Regions from separate parts of the Homo sapiens genome. Here regions 1 and 3 are each linked to region 2. The links are contacts of gene promoters, found by promoter capture Hi-C in blood cells and fetal thymus (Javierre and others, 2016). All regions are on one chromosome and are shown on one strand. The core of a region is centred on a gene start or on the middle of the fragment in contact, and the rest is flanking DNA. Distances in the headings are between cores, read along the strand shown.

Region 1 (3,485 bases), core at 173-2,672, 260 kb before region 2:
AATTGGAGACTATTATTCTAAGTGAAGTAACTCAGGAATGGAAAACCCAACATTGCATGTTCTCACTCATAAGTGGGTGCTAAGCTATGAGGATGCAGAGGCATAAGAATGATACAATGGACTTTGGGGACTCTGGAGGTGGGGGGGAAAGGGTGGGAAGGGGGTGAGGGATAAAAGACTACAAATTGGGTTCAGTGTATACTGTTCAGGTGATAGGTGCACCAAAATCTCATAAATCACCACTAAATAACTTAGTCATGTAACCAAATACCACCTTTTCCTCAAAAAACATATGGAAATAATTTTTTAAAAGGTAAAAAGTCTTGTATTTCCCTGCTGATCTTCCATCTAATTATTCTGTCCATTATTTAAAGTGGGGTTTTGAAGTTATTGTTAAACTGTTTCTCCCTTCAATTCTGTCAGTTTTTGCTTCACACGTTTTGGGGATCTGTGCTAGGTGCATATGTGTGTTGAATAGCTATATCTTCTTGAAGAATTGAATCTTTTATCATAATCCAATCATTTTTGTCTCTTATAAAAATATTTGTCTTTTTTTTTTTGAGACAGCTTCTCCTAAGCTTTTCCTTTCAAGTCTTTCCTCCCAAGGTTTCGGTTAGTTAATTGCTTGCCCAATTGCTATCTATTGCCCAAGCAGCAGCACTGGGTGAATCCAAATTAGGTTAGATAAAGGCAGGCTTTTTGGGCTTATCCTCCAAGCAGACACCAAACTGGTCATAACAAATGACCAAAGTTCTTTGGGAACAAAGTGCATTCTGCTCCTGCCATTACCAGTACCTGTAATAGGAATGCAGAATGTTATCTTTAAGGCAACTGTTGAGATGGGAAATGGGGCATGAAGCCAGGGTAAATTAAAAGGACAAAAAGTTATCTGTTCTTATTGAGAGTCAGCCAATTTTTATTCATTAAGCATTTTCCTGGTTCTTGCAAGCTTTTGTTTAGTTTCCAAAGTTCCAATAAAAGTTGATTCTGATAGTTTTTGATAGTTTTTCCGTTACCTTTAAGAAGGGATAATTTTTTGAGTTTCTTACCCTCCATTTCAACTCCTACTTTGTATGTTTTGAATAATTTAAAATTTCTGAAGGCTGTTTGTGGTTGAGAATATGATCTATCTTGGAAAATGTTTCACGTGTGCCTGTATGAGTCAGCTTGGGCTGCTATAACAAAATACTATAGATTGGCTGGCTTAAACAATAGATATTTATTTCTCATAGTTCTGGAGGCTATGAGGTGCTGGCCAATTCAGTTTCTGGTGAGGGTCCCCTTCCTGGCTTGCAGACAACCACCTTCTCACATGATGCTGAGAGGGCAAGCGATGGTCACTCTTCCTCTTCTTAGAAGAACACAAATTCCATCATGGGAGCCCCACTCTCATGACCTCATCTAAACTTAATTGTCTCCCAAAGGCTCCACCTCCAAATACTATCACATTGGGGGTTAGAGCTTCAATACTTAGGGCTCCAAAATAATTTTTTTTTTTGTTTTTGGAGTGGAAACAAACATTCAATCTATAACAATACTTGCAAAGAATATGTATTCTCTTCTTGGATGAAGTATTCTGTAGTTGTTTAGTACATCAAGTTGATTGAAGTGTATTCCATGTTTCTTATATCCGTATTTTCTTTCTACTTGTTCTCTCAATTATTGAAAGTGGGTTTTGGAAATCTCCGATTATAATTGTAGATGTGTCTGTTTCTTCTTTTAGTTTTATCAATTTTTGCTTCATTTATTTTGAACTCTGTGAGGTATATTTTTACATGAGGTATACAAAAACTTAGGATCATAATGCACTCCTGATTTACCAAGCAACTACTGTGTGACAACCATTCTTCTACTTGCTTTTTTACATGTAAACTCCTTCACTGTTAAAAGCTTATTCAGTAAATGCCATCTTATTTTTAAAGAGGAGAAAAAAATGGAGGCACAAAGTGGTGAAGAACCTCACACAAAGTTTTATATAGCAGAATAAAAACCCAAACATGAGGCTGCAGTGCTCTCAATTTTAACTAGTATGTTATTTTAGGTGTGGAGGGGGGATTTGAACTTAGAGTAAGGTCACACAGAGGAATATGATTAAATTGCAAGCTCCCTTGGAAACTGAGCCTTTGTCGTAGCAGTTGTTGAACTGGTTCAAATCATAGCATATCAAGTATATCTATTATTAGACGAAAGCACAAAACATATTTTCTTGCAAAACAAAAGTAATTTAGCTTGGAGGCATCATTTAAATTTCACATGTTTCTGTTTCCATCTTGGTAGTCATGTGTGGTCTTAGAGCTGATTTCTCTTTTCCTATCCCTGGATTATACAAAAGCAGTCCCAAGGTGGCTGATGAGAAGAAAGGATATATCTTAAAAAGATTTTAGTTAGTCCTGTAAAAGCCATTGCCAAGGAAGCTCAGTAGTCAACCCCAGTTGGCCAATAGAGCTTTATTCAAATGCCTTCTGCAACCTCCTCTGTTTCTTGCTAAATCATTTAGAGATAGAACACTGGACTTCTAATGAAAAGAAGGGATTTGAGTTTTAGCTTTTTCACCTACTAACTTTGTGACTATGAAAAAGTGACATAACTAATCTGCACCATCAAACTACTATAGTACCTACTAAAAAGGTTATTTTGAGGGTAATACATAAAGCACCATTTAAATATGGGGTATTTTCCTTATTCTTATTTTTCTTCTTTTAAATAAAGGATGCCTGCCTCCTCCAGTATCTGCTTGGCAGCCTGCAAGTCATTACAAATAAATATTATTTAATAAGTTCCTTCCATTTATCAGGCACTTTTGTCTACACCATCTCATTTAGCCCTCATTAACCCAGCAACCTTATAGAATCTTTTTCACAATTGCCAAAGGAGGAAATTGAGGTTCAGAGAGATTACATGACTTACCCATAACTACCCAGAGTGTATGTGGAAAACCAGGGTACAAATTCAGTTTGTAAGTAAAGCGTTTTTTCCCCACCCATCACCTCCTCTCTCCTCTCTCCAATAATATGCTCTCTAAGTCAGCCATGTACAGCCATGCAGGTTGTACACTGAACAACTCCAGGGAGTGTCATTTTTGTAGGCGGTAATGTGAATGGCACCCCCTAGAGATGTGGAGTGCTCAACTTGCAGAGCTATATGAGGAGGCCCTGGATCCTGTAATGTGTTTTGTTCAGAGTCAAGAAGATTTTACTGATAACCATATCCTCACCTCAGCCTTCTTTCAATCATTCTGGAGTTGCTTTCAATGCTTTTATAAATCTGAGTAAATGACCTAAAGGAATCTGTCTGATCACACCACCTCTCACCATGTGGTGGGACTTTCTCAATGTCATGGTAATTCATATGCCTGCATTTGTTCTATTAGTTGAGTATTTGCTTTCCACATGCTTCTACCTGCCTGCCAGCTTCCAAAAATTACCGTGAAAGAAATTGGCTGGATTTGGCAGGAAGAGGCCAAAACAGGCAAAAAGTGAACTACT
Region 2 (3,072 bases), core at 422-2,921:
ATACAAGATATGACTTTTAATGCATATACTATGTATTAAACTTATATACATATATATACACATACATATATACATATAGAAACAGGTGGTCTGACTTTTATGTTTATTGAGGGAAACATGGATTTTTTAAAAAACATTGAGAAACACTGCCTTAAAATCTCACTACACATCTGGACCATCTGTTTCCCTTCTCTTGATCTATCTGTCTTTGAAAAGGATACTATGGATATATTCACGCCAGAAGGAATGAGAGAGAGAACAATACTTTCCAAGGACCATTAGCATCAATCATCAGGTAAGGGTTTTACACATATCATCTCTCAGCTGTTCTTCACAACTATCTGGGGAAGTATTATCAGCGCACTTTATAATTGAGGAGACAGAGATTGCTCTAGAAATGCAATGGGATAGGAGAGCTACCAACTTCCATTTGGCCTGAAAGGCACAAAGATATAAAAAAATACTGACCCTGCTGTTCAGGGTCTTAGCCTCAGAGCACTCCTTGCCCAGGCTGTTCACCATCCTCAGTTGCTCCCAAGCTGAGAGCTGCTTGCCCTCCAGTGCATAGTGTGTGTCGGAAGCCACTGGTTGTCCTGAGGAGTTAAGGTGGCTCTGTCTGTGGCAGCACCTCACTGCAGAGACCTCCAGGCCCAGGACTGAGTGTCTGTTTGGTCTAGAAAACCCGAACTCCCCTAGTCTTCTCTGGCCCTGTAACTTGCAGATAATTAGGATTAATACCACAAATAATAAGAGCTGGGATGTACTGGTGCCTGCCATGACCAGAGCCTGAATCAAGCTCTTTATATTAGGATCCCATTTTCTCCTGCAACAGCCCTGTGAATTTTGCCTGACTTTAAAAAAAAATAGAGATGGGATCTTGCCATGTTGCCCAGGCTGGTCTTGAACTCCTGGGCTCAAACGATCCTCCCACTTTTTGGCCTCCTAAAGTGCTGGGATTACATGCGTGAGGCACAGCACCTGGCCATTACTGCCTTTTTACAGAAGAGTAACTGAGGCTAGCAGCAGCCCAATGTCATGCTGCTGGCAGAAGTATCAGCTTGCTCCTTCTTGTGCTTGGTTTCCAATTCATGTTTTTAGCCATTAGGCCAGCATTTCCCAAAGAATAGGCTACACGGACCAACCTCATCGGAAGCTCATTTTAAATGGGTAGAGCCCTGGGTCACATCTAACACCCGCTGAGCTAGAATCTCTGGAGCTGAAGCTGGAAACCTGAACTTCAATCAGATTTCCCTGGTGATTCTTATGTACATCAAAATTTAAGAACCACTGGAATATGATCGAGGGAAATCTTCCAGCTGCAAATTCATGCTTGCCATGCAGGGGCACCTCATAGCCACTAGATTTAAACTTAAGGATTAGTGTGCAGATACTTGCCACCAGATCACTTTCATAATTGAGGCAGAAATCACCAACCATTGCTGTCATCTCTACAGGGTTTCCTTGGAGTAAAACTGGTCTGTTGCACTGCTGTACTTCATATTTACCACCAGGCGGCATGAGCTCCTAGTAAAGCAACATTCTTGGAACAGCCTCTCAGGCTGAAACAGCCATGCCCAGAGGCAAAAATCAGGCAAACCAGAACCACCCACTGAATACGCATTAGTGAAATTTTAGCTCCTTGTGAGCCACTCAACTGCAGTGCCTAAGCACCCTCCTCCCAGTCATCTATCAGTAATTCATCCCCTGACTCCATGAGATGCCCAGTGACTTAATAAAGGGCTGGGCTTTGCACAGGTGGCTGAGTCCCCTTCATGAGCGTCACACCAATCTCCAGAGGAGACAAAACCAGCAACATACAGGTTTGGCAGCCTTCTGAATCCTCTTCTCTCCTCTAACAATAGCAAACCAGACTCTCAAAGGAGGGGAACATCCTTCTATGACTATAAAATTTTCCTATGACAGGCTTTTGCAACTCTGGAGGACAGCATGGGTTTCTAATGACATTAATTCACATCATGCTGCCATTACTGTGAGCAGATGTGTGGGAAGAGGCATTATTTACTTAAAAATAATCCTCTGTTGTCTTGGGAGGCCGAGGCAGACAGATCACCTGAGGTCAGGAGTTCAAGACCAGCCTGGCCAACATGGTGAAACCCCATCTCTACTAAAAATACATAATTAGCCAAGCGTGGTGGCACGCACCTGTAATCCCAGCTACTCAGGCATCTGAGGCAGGAGAATTGCTTGAAACCCAGGGACAGGGGTTGCAGTGAGCCAAGATCGCATCATTGTACTCCAATCTGGGCAAAAAGGAGTGGAACTCCGCCTCAAAATAATAATAATAATAATAATAATAATAATCCTCTGTTGTTAATGTGGTATCATTTGTGTAGCTAGGAAATTCTCTTTAGAAGAATTTCTAACAGAACAGCTTGGAGAAGAACGTCTGACTGTAGTTAGGGAGGAGGCTGTCTGGACCAACACACACTTGCAGGCAACCAGAAGCCATTGCTGCAGCGCAGCTCAGTTTATTCAGAAAGAGACAGCCAAAAAAAAAAAAAAAAAAGAGAGAGGGAGAGAAAATGGGGCAGCCTGAGATAGGGTTCTTCCTTTTCAGAGTATGAAGTAATGTTTATTCCTGGGAGAGCAGAGTCAACTTAAGTAATGTCTGAAGAGCACTATGAGCTAGGACAGAGAGCAGTGTCAAGGAAATAGAACTAGGCAAGGTTCTGCCTGGATGGAACCTGCAGCCAAGTGAGGAAGATGGGCACTAAATAAGCAGTTGGGTACATTGTCAGGGGTTCAAAAGAAGAATTATATGGGGTACTGGCTTTTATAGCCATGGGCTCTAACTTGAGCCAGGAGCTCAGGAGAGGCTGCCTCCCTGAGAAGATAGTGCTTAAGCAGAAGCTTAAAGGGTAAGAATTGAGTAGACAAAAAAAAGGGCTGGGGGCTAGAAGGGGTTAAGGTTTGGGAAGGGGAAGTAGGACCTGCATGGGATGTGTTCCAAGCAGAGGCCCAGAGATGTAAAAGTGCTGCATACCTGGGAAAAAGAGAACCCCAAAGAACTGGACCACACACACAAGTGTGACCATGACTTCACTACAATTT
Region 3 (3,290 bases), core at 256-2,755, 310 kb before region 2:
CATGCCTGGCTAATTTTTTTTGTATTTAGTAGATACAGGGTTTCACCATGTTGCCCAGGGTGGTCTTGAACTCCTGAGCTCAGGTGATCTGTCCACCTCAGCCTCCCAAAGTCCTGGGATTACAGGCGTGAGCCACCGTGCCCAGCCCAATTTCTCTGAATCTTAGATTCAATTTGCTAGGCTTTTCTCACCAGGTAATATGTAGCCAACAAACCTCAGTTTAATGTTATATATACTTCTTAATAAGATAAATTATGATTTTTTATTAATTCATTTCATTTTTAAGTCTCACTAAGTTTGTTTAAACTATAAAAAAGTATTTAAACTTTGCAAGAACATTACCGCTATTGAGAGCTGGTTTTAGAATACATTGAACAAAGGTTGTGATTAAGAATGTCCAGGGAACATATTTCTATACAGAAGTCAAAGTATCTGAGCTAAATTTTGTTAGAAAAAATATGCAAAAATAACCACTCGACTAATTAAAACATCTGAAAGTTATTAATCGTAAGTAAACAATAAAATCTGGAAATACCTCATTTAGGCACAAAATATCAGTAAAGTACAAATTATTAAAGAAAACAGCAACTTTAAAATAGATGTTGCAGTGACCCAGCTGAAGAATCAGGCAAGCTTAGGGACTCGCAGAGAAATTCACAGTGAGCCAGGAGAGTATGACCTGATAACAGGGTCTTAAAGTTAAGTTTTACTTCTTAGCTCAAAGCTTTTCTTTTGCCTCCCAATTTTTCCAACTTTTAAAATAATTTTTTAAATAAGAATGATAAAATTAAATTCTTTCAAGTACTTATGGTAGAGAGGGTATGTGCACTTATTTACATTAAATCCCCTGGATAATTGAATTATCCATATCCCACTGAGCTCCTGATTAACAATTGTCCCATGAATCCTTCCTTATAGAAAAGTGAATGTGACCATAATTCCCTATTTTGTTCAACTTTTCTTCCATCCCACCTTGACATTCTATGTAATTATTTTAGTCCATTGATAAAAACAAGTTAATATTTTTTATACTTTATTGGCCAGCAGGGGATCTCTCAAAACAAAGAAAGTGTTTTATACATTGACAGTTCTAGCTGGGATATTTAGAAAAGAAAGAAATGAGCATTTATTTGTGCCCGGTAGGCAGGATGGAAACAAAGAGGCCCAAGATGTGGTAAAGTTAGGCAAATTTGGTATAAAACATGCTAGAATGATGAAACTGAAGTTTAACCAGACACCGGTAGGTGGAACACAAGCGTGAAACAAGGGAGGATTTACTCTTGTGATGAGAAGTTGGCTACTAGATTTAGCAGACTAAAATTTCAATGACAAATGCTTTCTTAAAGCCTGGAGAACATAGTTTATCTGCTCCTTTGCTTGTTAATGTGGGAGACTGTTTCAGATTCTGTCCACCCAATTTCCATCGTCCTTTTTCTCTACAGAGTGAAATTATCTCTTACTGGGGATTCCCTAGTGAGGAATACCTAGTTGAGACAGAAGATGGATATATTCTGTGCCTTAACCGAATTCCTCATGGGAGGAAGAACCATTCTGACAAAGGTATGGGAAGGCTCTTAAAAGTAAAAACCAGAATTCTTCTGGGTTTTGTGTTAGTAACCAAGTTCAGATTTAACTTAAAAACATTGAAATGGGATTATTTTTAGACGAAAGCACTAACTGTGTTGAGGTTTGCAAGGCAAAGAAAAATAATTTTCTTTTAAAGAAGTAAGGACAAGAGTCATCTAATTTTTTGTTCAAAGGCCAGATTCATTTGAGGATATGCTAAAATCTCTGAGGCTTTGTTTTTTTAAGGAAGTGTATTTAATGAAATGTTTTGAGCATTAAATAGATGGCTTTTGCTATTTAAAAATTATTTAATTTTTTTGAATTCACATAATCTAAAAATCAGAGAATTAGAAGACATACAGTGAAATGCCTCCCTTCTCTCTCACTCCCTACTTCCTGCTTTTTTGTGTATCTTTTTGAAATAACTTCATTTTAAAATCTTTTTATTTCCAAAAATCTCATTAGAAACAAATACACACACAGATTCTTATTTTTCCCTTGCCTCCATTTGAATGCAAAAGATGGCACTATTTTGTTCTTTGAATTTTTTACTTAATATCTTGGAGATCTTTCCATACAATACATAAAGCACATCTTCCAGAAGTGCATGATATTTCACTATATGACTGTATCATTATTTATTTACCAAGTGTCCTATTAATGCATATTTGTGCTATTTCAGTCTTCTGTTAACAAATATTGCTGCTGTAAATAAGCTTTTGTGTGTGCAAGTTTATTTACATGATACATGTCCAGAAGTAGAATTTTTGGATCACAGGATATATGCATTTGTGATTTTGATATATATTGCCAAGCTGATTTTCATGTGCATGTGTCCTGATAATTACTATCACTATGAATATATGAAAGTTCTTGTAGCTTTGGCTTAAAAAGTATATATATACATATATATGTATATCTTTTTTCTCTCTCTCATTTTATAACTCAAGCAAAACTGCAGTTTCCAGTGCAGATAAAGGAATTTCTAGACAGACTGATTGAAATTATTAAGCAGTTATCAGAAGAAGGATCTAATCTTTATTCAATTATCTCTCCAGATGTAGCTTATTTATTTATTTATTTTTTTGAGACGGATTTTCGGTCTTGTTGCCCAGGCTGGAATGCAATGGTGCAATCTTGGCTCACTGCAACCTCCGCCTCCCAGGTTCAAGTAAGATGTAGCTTATTCTCTAACATTTTTTTGTTTCTGGAGACTTTTCTTGGGGAAATTAAGGTTTAGATTAAGGTAGTTAGATAGCTATTTATTCTTCAATTTAAGTGTTATACGGGCAAAAGAGCCACCTTTGCCTCAATTCCTGCCCAAATTGTTATTCAAAGCAAACTTAAACACCCTTTGTGTTAATGTGAGCATTGTATTATTATTTGCTTTGTTTTTTCTTAATTTATCCTAGTTTAACTTTTTTCTTCCATGTGTTCTAGCTGTAATAAGATTTTAATAATGTTTAGGTGGCCACGACAACCATTTTTTTTGAAATTTGATTTCTAACTCTTGAGATTTTTATGCTTTACAGATATATGCCATTAAGCTTCCTTTTTATAAATATGTTATAAAATGAGTGATGAGTTATAGTGAGAGCTTTTAGTTTTTCCTGTGCTCAAAACACTCAAAACATATATTTTATGCTAGAGCGAGCATATGATCTTGGTTTCCTTCCTTTTTTTTCCCCCAAAGAATAACCCCTGTATACTGATTTCAGACACTG

The links. Contacts are between HindIII fragments. The CHiCAGO score rates a contact against its expected background, and 5 or more counts as called.
Region 1: a contact is called between a fragment that was not itself captured here and the fragment with the promoter of ACTA2-AS1 in region 2, in 1 of 17 cell types (activated CD4 T cells). The highest score is 5.8, in activated CD4 T cells.
Region 3: a contact is called between a fragment that was not itself captured here and the fragment with the promoter of ACTA2-AS1 in region 2, in 3 of 17 cell types (total CD4 T cells, activated CD4 T cells and total CD8 T cells). The highest score is 5.9, in total CD4 T cells.

Annotation. Positions count from the first base shown.
Region 1 is chr10:89,186,800-89,190,284 of GRCh38, reverse strand. All of the region lies in intron 2 of LOC105378418 (a long non-coding RNA gene), which reads right to left. Among named protein-coding and RNA genes, the nearest start is that of CH25H, 19 kb to the left of the region's middle. The HindIII fragment of the contact is 941 bases long and covers 952-1,892 here.
Region 2 is chr10:88,931,283-88,934,354 of GRCh38, reverse strand. It overlaps ACTA2-AS1 (ACTA2 antisense RNA 1), which reads right to left and starts at 1,671. Exons shown (of 5, transcript NR_125373.1): 1 at 1,396-1,671; 2 at 469-714. RefSeq lists an enhancer at 1,981-2,080. The HindIII fragment of the contact is 5,161 bases long and covers 1-2,873 here.
Region 3 is chr10:89,243,946-89,247,235 of GRCh38, reverse strand. It overlaps LIPA (lipase A, lysosomal acid type), which reads left to right. Exons shown (of 10, transcript NM_000235.4): 3 at 1,443-1,560. Among named protein-coding and RNA genes, the nearest start is that of LIPA, 6.2 kb to the left of the region's middle. The HindIII fragment of the contact is 1,558 bases long and covers 727-2,284 here.